2 separate regions of the Homo sapiens genome follow, and region 2 is linked to region 1. The links are contacts of gene promoters, found by promoter capture Hi-C in blood cells and fetal thymus (Javierre and others, 2016). All regions are on one chromosome and are shown on one strand. Each heading gives the region's core, a stretch centred on a gene start or on the middle of the fragment in contact. The rest is flanking DNA. Distances are from core to core; before and after follow the strand shown.

The links. The method cuts DNA at HindIII sites, captures the fragments that hold promoters and counts their contacts. A CHiCAGO score of 5 or more calls a contact.
Region 2: a contact is called between a fragment that was not itself captured here and the fragment with the promoter of EFNB3 in region 1, in 2 of 17 cell types (endothelial precursors and activated CD4 T cells). The highest score is 6.1, in endothelial precursors.

The regions. Positions count from the first base shown.
Region 1 is chr17:7,703,727-7,709,276 of GRCh38, reverse strand. EFNB3 (ephrin B3) reads right to left here and starts at 4,075. Exons shown (of 5, transcript NM_001406.4): 1 at 3,557-4,075; 2 at 1,027-1,319; 3 at 750-842; 4 at 538-642; 5 at 1-110. The coding sequence starts at 3,678. RefSeq lists enhancers at 2,806-3,697, 5,382-5,461, 4,591-5,482, 5,483-5,550 and a silencer at 5,392-5,550. The HindIII fragment of the contact is 8,602 bases long and covers 2,280-5,550 here.
Region 2 is chr17:7,964,223-7,969,772 of GRCh38, reverse strand. No RefSeq gene overlaps it. Among named protein-coding and RNA genes, the nearest start is that of CNTROB, 35 kb to the right of the region's middle. RefSeq lists a silencer at 1,735-1,935. The HindIII fragment of the contact is 609 bases long and covers 2,869-3,477 here.

The sequences.
Region 1 (5,550 bases), core at 2,826-5,325:
GCCCAGCAAGAGCAGCGCCAGCCCCCCTGCTGCCCCAGCCACTGCAGGCATGCTGGGAGGGGGCAGGGGGCCTTCAGCACCCCGGGAGGTTGCATTGCTGGTGGGGTCACCTGGCAGGGAAGGGGTGAAGGAGGAAAGAGGGGGAGGGACTGAAGGAGCCACCTGGGCACCTGGACACCCAACCCTGGGGGTCCCCATGGGCTTCCCTTGTAGCGCCCAGGCCCCTTGGGGACCCCATCTCTCCTCCCCCTCCGAACTCTGCTCAGAATCCAGGTGTCCAGCCCTTCAGCTTCCTGCCACGGAGTCCTCCCCACTTCTCTGACAGCACTGATTGAAGCACTGACTTGGCTAATTAGTTCTAATTGAGTCTTTTCCTCATTTGGTTTCCATTCCCCTCCCACCCTCCCATCCTCTCTTCTCCTCTTTCCTGTATCACCGCCCCCAAAACTGAAGAGGGAGGGAGGGTGACGGCAGGGCAGCTGGGGTCTGAGAGCAGAGGAAGCTGGGGAAGGCAGGGGCCTAGCCCCTGGTTCCTACCTGGCAGGTTCTCCTTCCCAGGCTCCAGGCTGTGGGCTGCCCCTCGGTCTCTTTCCATGGGCATTTCAGACACAGGTTTTCGGGGGACAGCCCCTCCTCGGGGACCTGGAGATGAGGAAGACCCAGAGAGGGGCTGAGACAACTGCCCCAACCATGATCGTACTGCCCCAACGTCCCTTCGTGCCCAGGAGGTGTCCCCCAGCCCCACTCACTTTGTCCCACTCGGAGAAGCACCTTCATGCCTCTGGTTAGGCACACACCTCCCTGCAGGCTCTCCAGGCCCTCCCGGGTCCCATCCGATGTGGCTGGGAGAGAAAAGCCAGAGGAAGAGGTTGGCACTCCAGAATCTAGCCCTGATTCTGGCCCCACACCCTGGTGTGAACACTGCCTGAGGGCACTGGGATCTCCCTCTTGGCTGCAGGGGTCCCCCTCCCTCTCTGCTCAGTATCAGGAGCCCCCCACTCAATCGTGCCCTCTGCCCAGCAGTACCAATGATGTAGTAATCGTGGTGCGAGCGGAACTCGTGGCCCCAGAGATTAGGGCTATACTCCTGGAACTTGATGGTGAAGCGGAGATCCAGGTCTGGGCGATCACAAGTGAGAAGGAGGTTTGGGGCAGGGGGTGCCTCACAGCGCCGGCCCTGAGCACCCCCTACCAGGTACAGCTTGTAGAACTCATAATTAGGAGAGGAGTGAGGGCCAGGAGGCCGGGCCCGGGGGCAGAGCAGGTCTAGCCGGTCCCCGATCTGAGGGTACAGCACATAACCACCCTCTGCCTGGAACCTATGGGGAGGAGGGTAAGGTGGACAAGGAAGAGATGTCAGAGGCCTGGCCCCCAGAACTTTCCTTCCCTCACCCCACAACCTTCCAGGACAGCAATTCTCAGCTCACGCTTGCCCGCCTTTGTCTGAGTGGAAAGTCTCTTCTTATAGAGCAGGCACCAAGGACTCTGTGCATTCACATTGGAAGCAGCAGGAAGCCAGGCTCAGGGGTCTCCTGCCCCTTGGTGTGCCCAAATGCACTCCACTCTTCAGCCCGCCCTCACCACATGCACACCGCCATCTCCCGCTCCATCACCAGCCCCGTTGCCATGGCAACAGGATGCCAGTTACCAAGGAGCTGGCCTCTCTGGAACCACACAGCCCACCCCTCCCAGGTGATTTCACTATTCCATGGCAGCCAACCATGCGGGCAGAGCCTCCCCTCCTTCAGGCCACCACTGAATTTCAGGGATTTCCGGGCAAAGGGGGCGGCGGTTCAGGGAGGGGCTGTGTGGAGGGTGGTCCAGACCAGTGTCCTAAGTTAGCCAGCTAATAGCACAGAAGGCAAATGCCTGGTTTGGCCACGACCATCATTGGGGCTGATGGGAACCAGGGTCTAGGAACCTGCTGCCTGAGTCATTCTCCCACTCAGAATCCCACACTGGGTCTTAGACTTCTGGGGCAAGTGCTCTATTGCTTTGGAAAGGAAAGGAGTTGACTTTTCTAACCACAACCAACACACTTCACCATCTCCTTGGCCAGTGCACCCAGGCATCCACTGTCCCAGCACAGCCACAACTTGCCAACCCCTGCAGCCCCTTCCTGGACATCAATAGCTGCTGAGACAGGGTCTCAGGACTGGGTCCCAGGGGACTGCTACTTGATATCTTCCCAGACTCCCAAGTGTCCCACTCCCACCCCACATCCGAAAGAGCCCCCAGGACACCCTAACTCCCTTTTCTCTACCCTGTGAAAACAAGCTTATGTTCTCAAGCTACACACCTGATACTCACATTGCAGCTGGGAGTTGGCAGGTGGGTGACTGAGTACAGAAAAGACATTGAGATTATACCCAAAGAGATCCAGGGAAAAGAGAGGGAGGGATGGCAGAGCAGAGAAGTGTGAGGGAGGCTGGGAAGTAAAGAGAGGAACAATAATCCTAGCTCTCCTTTAATGAGCACATAATACATTCAAACACCTTACCGCTAATCCTCATAATAGCTGTAAGGATTGAGGATACAAACTCAGAAAGGTTAAGTGACATGCCCAAGGCCACACAGCTGAAAGCGGCAGAGCTAGGATTAAGACCAAAGATTTGATGAGCTCCAAAGCCCACCCCCTTCCCATGGCCTCACACAGTCTCCCCAGGGAAGTAGGAATTTTTCAAAACACAGAACTCTTTTATGAGCGGGAAGTGGGATCCGCATGTAGGCAAGGGACCCAGGTGACCTCCCGAAGGTTCTGTCCTACCCAGCGTGGCTTGAAGTTTCATCTGACCCCTGGCCTCTTTTCAGAGCAAAGCTGGCATGCCATGGAACAGAGGGTCTGATGGAAGAGTTTGCAGCAAAGATTGGGGGAGGGGGCAATGGAGTCCTCCAGATGCAAAAGGGAAGGAAGGAGGGTTCAGGGGGCTCCAGGCTTCTTCCAGCAAGATGCCGGCAAGCCAGGAAGGCAGGAATATGTTCTGGCTGGGAAATCGTTCAGCCAACAGTTCACTGACCCTCTGGCTGTGGGGAAGAGTTGGGAGACAGACTGTGAAGAGAGTCAAGGAGCCTTGGGGAAGTTGTCCCCAGAGCCCCCAAACGGAACCCCCTTGCCTCCCATCTCGGATGCGCAGTCCCTCTGGGGGAGGGAGGCACCCTGCCCTGCCTTCCCCTCAGCGACTCGCAGCACCTAATCTGCAGCTCTCTCCTGAGAGCTGACAGTAACCAGGCTCCCTCCAAGCCCAGCCCCCGACGCAGGCCTCCCACAGATCCAAATACCCACCTCACTGCCCTCCCGGCTACCCATGAACTTTCTTCTCCTTGCCCCTTTGGGGTCTCCAAACTCCTGACATCCATAGCACCACCCGCATCCAGCTCTGCGTGGGACCCGGAGTCTGGCTCCCAAGATCACCTGTCTAGTAACCCATCACACATCAGAGCACCAGCACCTTCCCTCCCGCCTCCTCCCTGCCCACAGAAGCCCGCCTCCAAGCCCCCAGAGCTTCCCTACCCACTGCCCTAGGGTCTGGGATCTCCCCAGCCGCAGGCCACTCACCTCTTATTCGCCGAGTTCCAGTAGACAGGCTCCAGGCTGAGCCCAGACACCAGCCCCAAAACCCCCAGCAGCAGCAGGGCCCCGACTCGCACGCCCCCCGGCCCAGAATGGGGGGGCCCCATGACCCCGCCAAGGCCTGGGGGGCGGGGCACCAACTCCCCCAAAGTCGCCCACCCCCCGGGGTGGCTGCCTTGGCTGCCTGGCTCTTCAGCCCGGACCACCCCGGTAGCTGATGCCCCCAGCGCCCACGCGGACCTGCTTCCTGCTGTGCCCGCGCCCCCGCGGCAGAGCGCTCAGCCCCACCAGAGCCCTTCCAGGGGCCGTCTGCAGGCGCCCTACGCGCCCCCGGCCCACGCGCCAGCACCCCGGGATCTGTGAGCCCGCCTAAGTGGGGGACTGGGGGAGCCGGGGACCGGGCGGGGGCGGCATGGGGCGCCGGACCAGGGAGCGAGGAAGGGGGCGCCGAGCCGGAGCCCCAGCCTCGCTGGGATTGAGGGCAGCGGGCTAAGGGAGGAAACCAGTCCCGAGCCCAGGAGGGGGGAGTTAAAGGAGAGGCGGGGAGGGGCAGAGGATGGTGGAGGGAAAAACCGGAGCTGGAGCTCGAGGCGGAGCGGGCGGCAGCATCCCGCGGCCCACGCCCCCCACACCTCCCTCACCTCGCGCACCTCCCGCCCGCCGCCCCGCCTCAGCCCCCGGCGCGGGCTGTCACGCCCCCTTTGTCTCTCCGAGCCTCTGGCTCCGGCTGAGTTCTGCCCGGCTCCCCTCCTGCCCTCCGATCGCCCAAGCTGCTGGAATCTTCCTCTCTCGAATCCAGAAAGGCTCTCGCCCTCTCCACCCCGAGGAACCCACCCCTTTCGCTCCCGCAGCCTCCTCCTCCATCCCAAAACAACACCGCTGCTCCCGGCAGGTTTGGAGAGAATAATAATAACCTTGAAGGCTTGGCGCTTTACAAAGTGCGGCGGAGCTGATCGTCACGACTACCTGTGTGAAGTGGGAGGGGCAGAGCTAACGATCCCATTGCAGAGATGAGGAAACTGAGGCTCAGGGAGGCCCCGTGACTTGCCCAAGGTCACACAGGAAGTCTGGGATAAAGCTAGAAACCAAACCCAGGCTGCGCACCTCCCACTCTTGGGGTCTCTTTTGTCACTGCTCCATGGACCAAGTGCTGTTGTTACCTGGGGGTTAGTGAAAAACAAGAGTTTAGGGGATACACTTGGGTCTTTCCTAGATGGCTGGGGGGAGAAGCGGGGCTGGGAGAAGAAGGGGCGTACCTACAACCCCAAACCGGCGCTGCGCAGGAAGGGCTGTTTCCAATTATCCTGGGGGAAGGGAGGAGTTGCCTTTTCGGGTGTAAGAGCCCTGGCTTTCAGCACCTCTGGGCAGGGGTGACATTCCTCTCCCTCTCAAGCCTCCCCAGGCCTTTCGTCCCTTCCCTTTGATTGTGAGGTCCAAAATCACATCCCCTGCTGGCAGTATTTCTTCAAAGTCCCCCCATTCTCAGTGTTTGGGAAGGTGTTGGGGGGAGGAGGGAGGAGTCACTGCTTCAAATGACACACTCGTCCCCCACCCCCAAAGACAGAGCAGACAAATGGAGAAACAAGCCCAGCGACAGCCGCTGAATGAATAAGACCCTCGCCGCGCCCCGCATGGAACAGCAATATCAAAGGTGACGACTGTATTTTTCAACACCTTTACTCTTTTATGTGTGTCCTTGACTCTGGCAACTGGGTTGTCTGCCTCCTGGGGAGCCCCGGGGAGCGGAGGAGAGTGCTCCTGCTCCCCTCAGAGCTGAGTAATGGTCCCCATGCTGCTGGAGAATGGCAAACAGTGTGGAGTGTGGGCGACAGGCGCCCTGTCACTGTCTGCACAGTCTCACACGGTCACACCCAACAGTCTGACCCAGCTCCTGCTCAGCCCCGCTCACCCTGACCCCTGCCGCCCCCACCTTGGGAGTGAGATTTCAAACAGGTTTCCCCCTTCAGTTTACCAAGTTG
Region 2 (5,550 bases), core at 1,924-4,423, 260 kb before region 1:
TGTTAAGTGAAAGAAGCCAGTCACAAAAGACTGCGTATTGTATGATTCAATTTAGATGAAGTGTCCAGAATAGGCAAATCTGTAGAAAAAGAAAGTAGATTGTTGTGGTTGCTCAAGGCAGGGAAGGATGGGGAGGTGGCGGGTTGATGGCGAAACAGTGCAAGATTTCTTCTTGGGATGATGAAAATGTTCTACAGTTGATTGTGGTGATGATGGTGCAACTCTATGAATATATTAAAAATCATTGAATTGTACACTTTTATTTGTATAGTGTGTGACTTATATCTCGATCAGACTGTTAGAAGAATGGTTAGTGCCAGGAGGGGAACTTCTCTATGCAAAGCCTTACAAAGTGGGGGAAAAAAGGTGAATAGCAGTATGGGCATCATCTGGGAGCTCAGAAATGAAGAATCTCAGGGGTTTCCCAGTTTTTGTTTAAATAGTCAAGAACCGACTGAGGATGGTTTCCCAGATCCACTGAATCAGAATCTGCATTTGAACAAGATCCGCAGGCAATTTGTATTCACAGAGGCCTGTGAAGCACTGGACTAGAAAACATTGTACACTGCAAATAAAAAACTATCCAGGCTGGGCGCAGTGGCTCACGCCTATAATCCCAGCACTTCGGGAGGTCAAGGCAGGTGGATCACCTGAGGTCAGGAGTTCGAGACCAGCATGGCCAACATGGTGAAACCCCATCCCTACTAAAAATACAAAAATTAGCAGGGCATGGTGGTGGACACCTGTAATTCCAGCTACTCGGGAGGCTGAAGCAGGAGAATCGTTTGAACCCAGGAGGCGGAGGTTGCAGTGAGCTGAGATCTTGCCACTGCACTCCAGCCTGGGCGTCAGAGCGAGACTCTGTCTCCAAAAAAAAAAAAGCCTGTAATCCCAGCACTTTGGGAGGCCAAGGGGAGAAGATTGCTTGAGTCCAGGACTTCGAGACCAGCCTGGGCAATATACTGAGACCCCTAACTATACAAAAATTGTAAAAATTAGCCGGGCATGGTGATGCACGCCTGTTGTCCCGGCTGTGGGGGAATTTGGGGGGAGCTGAGACAGAAGGATAGCTTGAGCCGGGAGGTTGAGGCTGGAGTGATCCGTGAACTGCACTCCAGCCTGGGCAACAGAATGAGACTCTGTTTCAAGAAAAAAAGAAAAGAAAAGAAAAAATAATAAACAAGTAAATAAATAAAAACTATTGGGCCAGGTGCGGTGGCTCACGCCTGTAATCCCAGCACTTTGGGAGGCGGAGGCAAGCAGATCACCTGAGGTCGGGAGTTCGAGACCACTGACCAACATGGAGAAACCCCATCTCCATCAATAATACAAAAATTAGCCTTGCGTGGTGGCGCATGCCTGTAATCCCAGCTACTCAGGAATCTGAGGCAGGAGAATCGCTTGAACACAGGAGGTGGAGGTTGTGGTGAGGCGAGATCACATCATTGCACTCCAGCCTGGGCAACAAGAGGGAAACTCCATCTCAGAACAAAACAAAAAACAAAGCAAACAAACAAACAAAAAAACAACTATCCCTCGTTGGCCTGGTTCTGTCTCAAGTAGTTTTGCAACTCATGTAAGTGCAGTAGATAGTCTCCAAAGGTGGCTACTATTTGAGATAGGAAATATCAACACTTATGATGTTTCTGACACCAAAATATGTGTGTGTGTGTGTGTGTGTTGGAGTGAGAGGTCCCCACACATCAAGCAGTTCTGCAGCAGATACTAGCTGGGTGTCAATAATTCAATTCAATTCTGACACTATCCACTTGAAGATAGCATCAGATCCCAGACTGTCCAGCGGAGTTGAGGCTTCAGATTGGCTGACACTGCAAATCCTGAGTGAGAGTTATCAGGTTAAGTCCAGCAACCCACAGAACCATGAGCAACAATCACATATTTTTGCTGAAGCCACGAAGTTTTGGGGTGGTTTGTCACATAGCAATACATAGAGCAATATGTTATCCTGAGGCCAGTCACCTGACAACTGCCTGAAACCAGAGGTAATGGTTAGCAAAAACTTCTGTAACCAAATCTAGTGCTGTATACCAGGAACTAGTGATTTGTTTTATTACCTAAATTTAAAACCCCTTAATATGCCTCCCAGTTACCTGGTTCAAGACACCAGAAAAGAAAATGAGAGGAGGGTCCGGGTGCGGTGGCTCACGCCTGTAATCCCAGCACTTTGGGAGGCCGAGGCGAGTGGATCAAGAGGTCAGGGGTTCGAGACCAGCCTGACCAACATAGTGAAACCCCGTCTCTATTAAAAATACAAAAAAAATTTAGCCGGGCGTGGTGGCAGGCGCTTATAGTCGCAGCTACTCGGGAGGCTGAGGCAGGAGAATGGTGTGAACCCGGGAGGCGGAGGTTGCAGTGAGCCAAGTCGTGCCACTGCACTCCAGCCTGGGCGACAGACTGAGACTCCGTCTCAAAGAAGAAAAAAAAAAGAAAAAGAAAATGAGGGGAGGAGAAGAACAATGGAAAAATGGGAACAGGCTGGGCCCAGTGGCTCACACCTGTAGTCCCAGCACTTTAGGAGCCCGAGGCAGGTGGATCACCTGAGGTCAGAGTTCAAGACCACCCTGGCCAATATGGCAAAACCCTGTCTCTACTAAGAATACAAAAATTAGCCTGGCATGGTGGCGCATGCCTGTAATCCCAGCTACTCAGGAGGCTGAGGCAGGAGAATCGCTTGAACATGGGAGGCGGAGGTTGCAGTGAGCCAAGATTGCACCACTGCACTCCAGTCTGGACAACAGAGCAAGACTCTTTCTCAAAAAAACAAAACAAAACAAAACAAAAACAGAAGAAGAAGAAGAGTAGGAACAGCATAACAACATGAAAGCCCGAAAAATAAATACCTAAGCTTTCTTAAACAATACTTTACATCTATACTTACGTGATGTACCTCTATCATTAGTCATTGTGAATGACTGATGTTTATAAGTGACAGAAAAACAGAAATGAAAGACAATTCCAAATAACTGCAAATGTTATAATTAGATTACAAAAGAAATGCCTTTTTTTTTTTCTTTTTGAGGCAGAGTCTGTCTCTGTTGCTCAAGCTGGAGTTCCGTGGCACGATCTCGGATCATTGCTACCTCCGCCTCCTGGGTTCAAGCGATTTTCCTGCCTCAGCCTCCCAAGTAGCTGGGATTACAGGTGTATGCCACCATGCCCAGCTAATTTTTGTATTTTTAGTGGAGACAGGGCTTCACCATGTTGGCCAGGCTCATCTCGAACTCCTGACGTCAGGTGATCCACCTGAGGAGGCCTCAGCCTCCCAAAGTGCTAGGATTACAGGCGTGAGCGACCGTGCCTGGCCGAAATGCCTTATTTTAAACACTTAAGAAAAATAAAGTACATGTAATGTCAAAAAAAATTCCATTTATAAAAGCGATTAAAAAATCTTTAAAATATCTGAGAAAAGATTAACACAAAATGTTCAGGACTTATAAATTGTAAAATCATGAAGCTTTAAGAATAAAAACAGAAAGGGATGCATGGAAAGAAAGAACAAAAATGAGAAATGCACTATTATCAAGAGGAAAATTGTCCTAAATTAATTTGTATTATATCTTGTTTCTTTGATGCCTTCATTTATTATCTCTAGTAATTTTGAGGTGCTTTTCATTTCATTTGCATAACATGATCATTTTATTTCTTCCTTTTCTTTATGTATATCTTTCTTTCTCTTCTCAAATAGCTTTGTCAGAATTTTTAGAGCTACGTTGAATAGTAGTAATAAGATATCCTTGTCTTGTTCCTATTTTAAAGAGGAATAATTCATGTTCTCCATTAAGTGTAATTTTGACTTTTGGTTTTCAATAGAGCCTTTTTGTCATGTTAAAGAGGCAACCTTTTATTGCTTTTAGGGAGAGTTTCCATGAAGAATTCCCTCTGGCATTTGTGGAAATAATTATATGAATTTTTTCCAATAATATTATTGGTTATGTGGAAAATTGAGCTTTAGTGGGGGATGTTTATAAGTGACAGAAAAACAAAAATGAAAGACCATTTGAAATAAGTTCAAAAACAGAATTGGTTAAAAAGTACATGTTCTTTTTTTCTTCTTTTTTGAGACAGGGTCTTACTCTGTCACCCAGGGTGGACTGCAGTGGCATGATGATAGCACTGATCTCAATCTCCCGAGCTCAAGCAATCCTCCCGCCTCAGTTTCCAGAGTAGCTGGGACTATTTTTAGTACAGATGAGGTCTGCTATGTTGCCCAGGTATGGAACTCCAGAGCTCAATCGATTCTTGCGCCTCAGCCTCTCACACTTTTGGGATTACAGGTGTGAGCTACCACACCTTTAAAATTCCTTTAAAAATTATACTTTATTAAAATTTATACTATATTCTGATTGCTAAAATTTTATTTAGAATGTTTGCATATCTACTAATTTATGAGATTACCATGTAAACTATTTTTTATGCTGTTTCATTAGGTGTGATGATAAAAATCTGTTTCATCAAAGGAAATGAGACAATTTATTTAAAAGGTAATATAGGCCAGGTGTGGTGGCTCACGCCTGTAATCCCAGCACTTTGGGAGGCCGAGGCGGGCAGATCATGAGGTCAGGAGTTCGAGACCAGCCTGACCAACGTAGTGAAATCCCGTCTCTACTAAAAATACAAAAATTAACCCGGCATGGTGGTGCGTGCCTGTAATCCCAGCTACTCAGAAGGCTGAGACAGGAGAATTACTTGAACGTGGGAGGCAGTGGTTGCAGTGAGCCAAGATCACGCCATTGCACTCCAGCCTGGGTGACAGAGCGAGACTCCATCTCAAAATAAATAAAATAAAATAAAATACACTACAATATAAAGAGCAATAAAATTAAAAAAAATTTTTTTTAAACTCACTACATTGCCCAGGCTGGTCTCAAACTCCTGGCCTCAAGCAAGCCTGCCTCAGCCTCCCAAAATGCTGTGATTACAGGTGTGAGCTACCACGCCCAGCCTTTTAAAATATATATATATATAATGCTGGGCACGGTGACTCACACCTGTAATCCCAGCACTTTGGGAGGGCAAGGCAAATCACGAGGTCAGGAGTTCAAGACCAGCCTGGCCAACATGGTGAAACCCCAACTCTACTAAAAAAATACAAAAAATTATCCAGGCGTGGTGGCACGTGCCTGTAATCCCAGCTACTCGGGAGGCCGAGACAGGAGAATCACTTGAACCCAGGAGGCAGAGGTTGCAGTGAGCACAGATCTCACCATTGCACTCCAGCTTGGGTAACAAGAGTGAAACTCTGTCTCAAGAAAACAACAACAACAATAAAAATGTATATGTATATAATATAATAAATAAAAAATATGTAATACATTTGATATACATTGCTCTGTCACCCAGGCTAGAGTGCTGTGGTGCAATCATAGCTCACTGCAGCCTTGAACTCCTGGGCTCAAGCAATTCTCCTGCCTCAGCCTCCCCAGTAGCTAGGACTTCAGGTGCACACTACCACCTGAAAATTTTTTAAAGTCCAATTTCAATAGAAATAAAAGAAATAATAAATAAAACCATAAGGAGATACCAAAATTG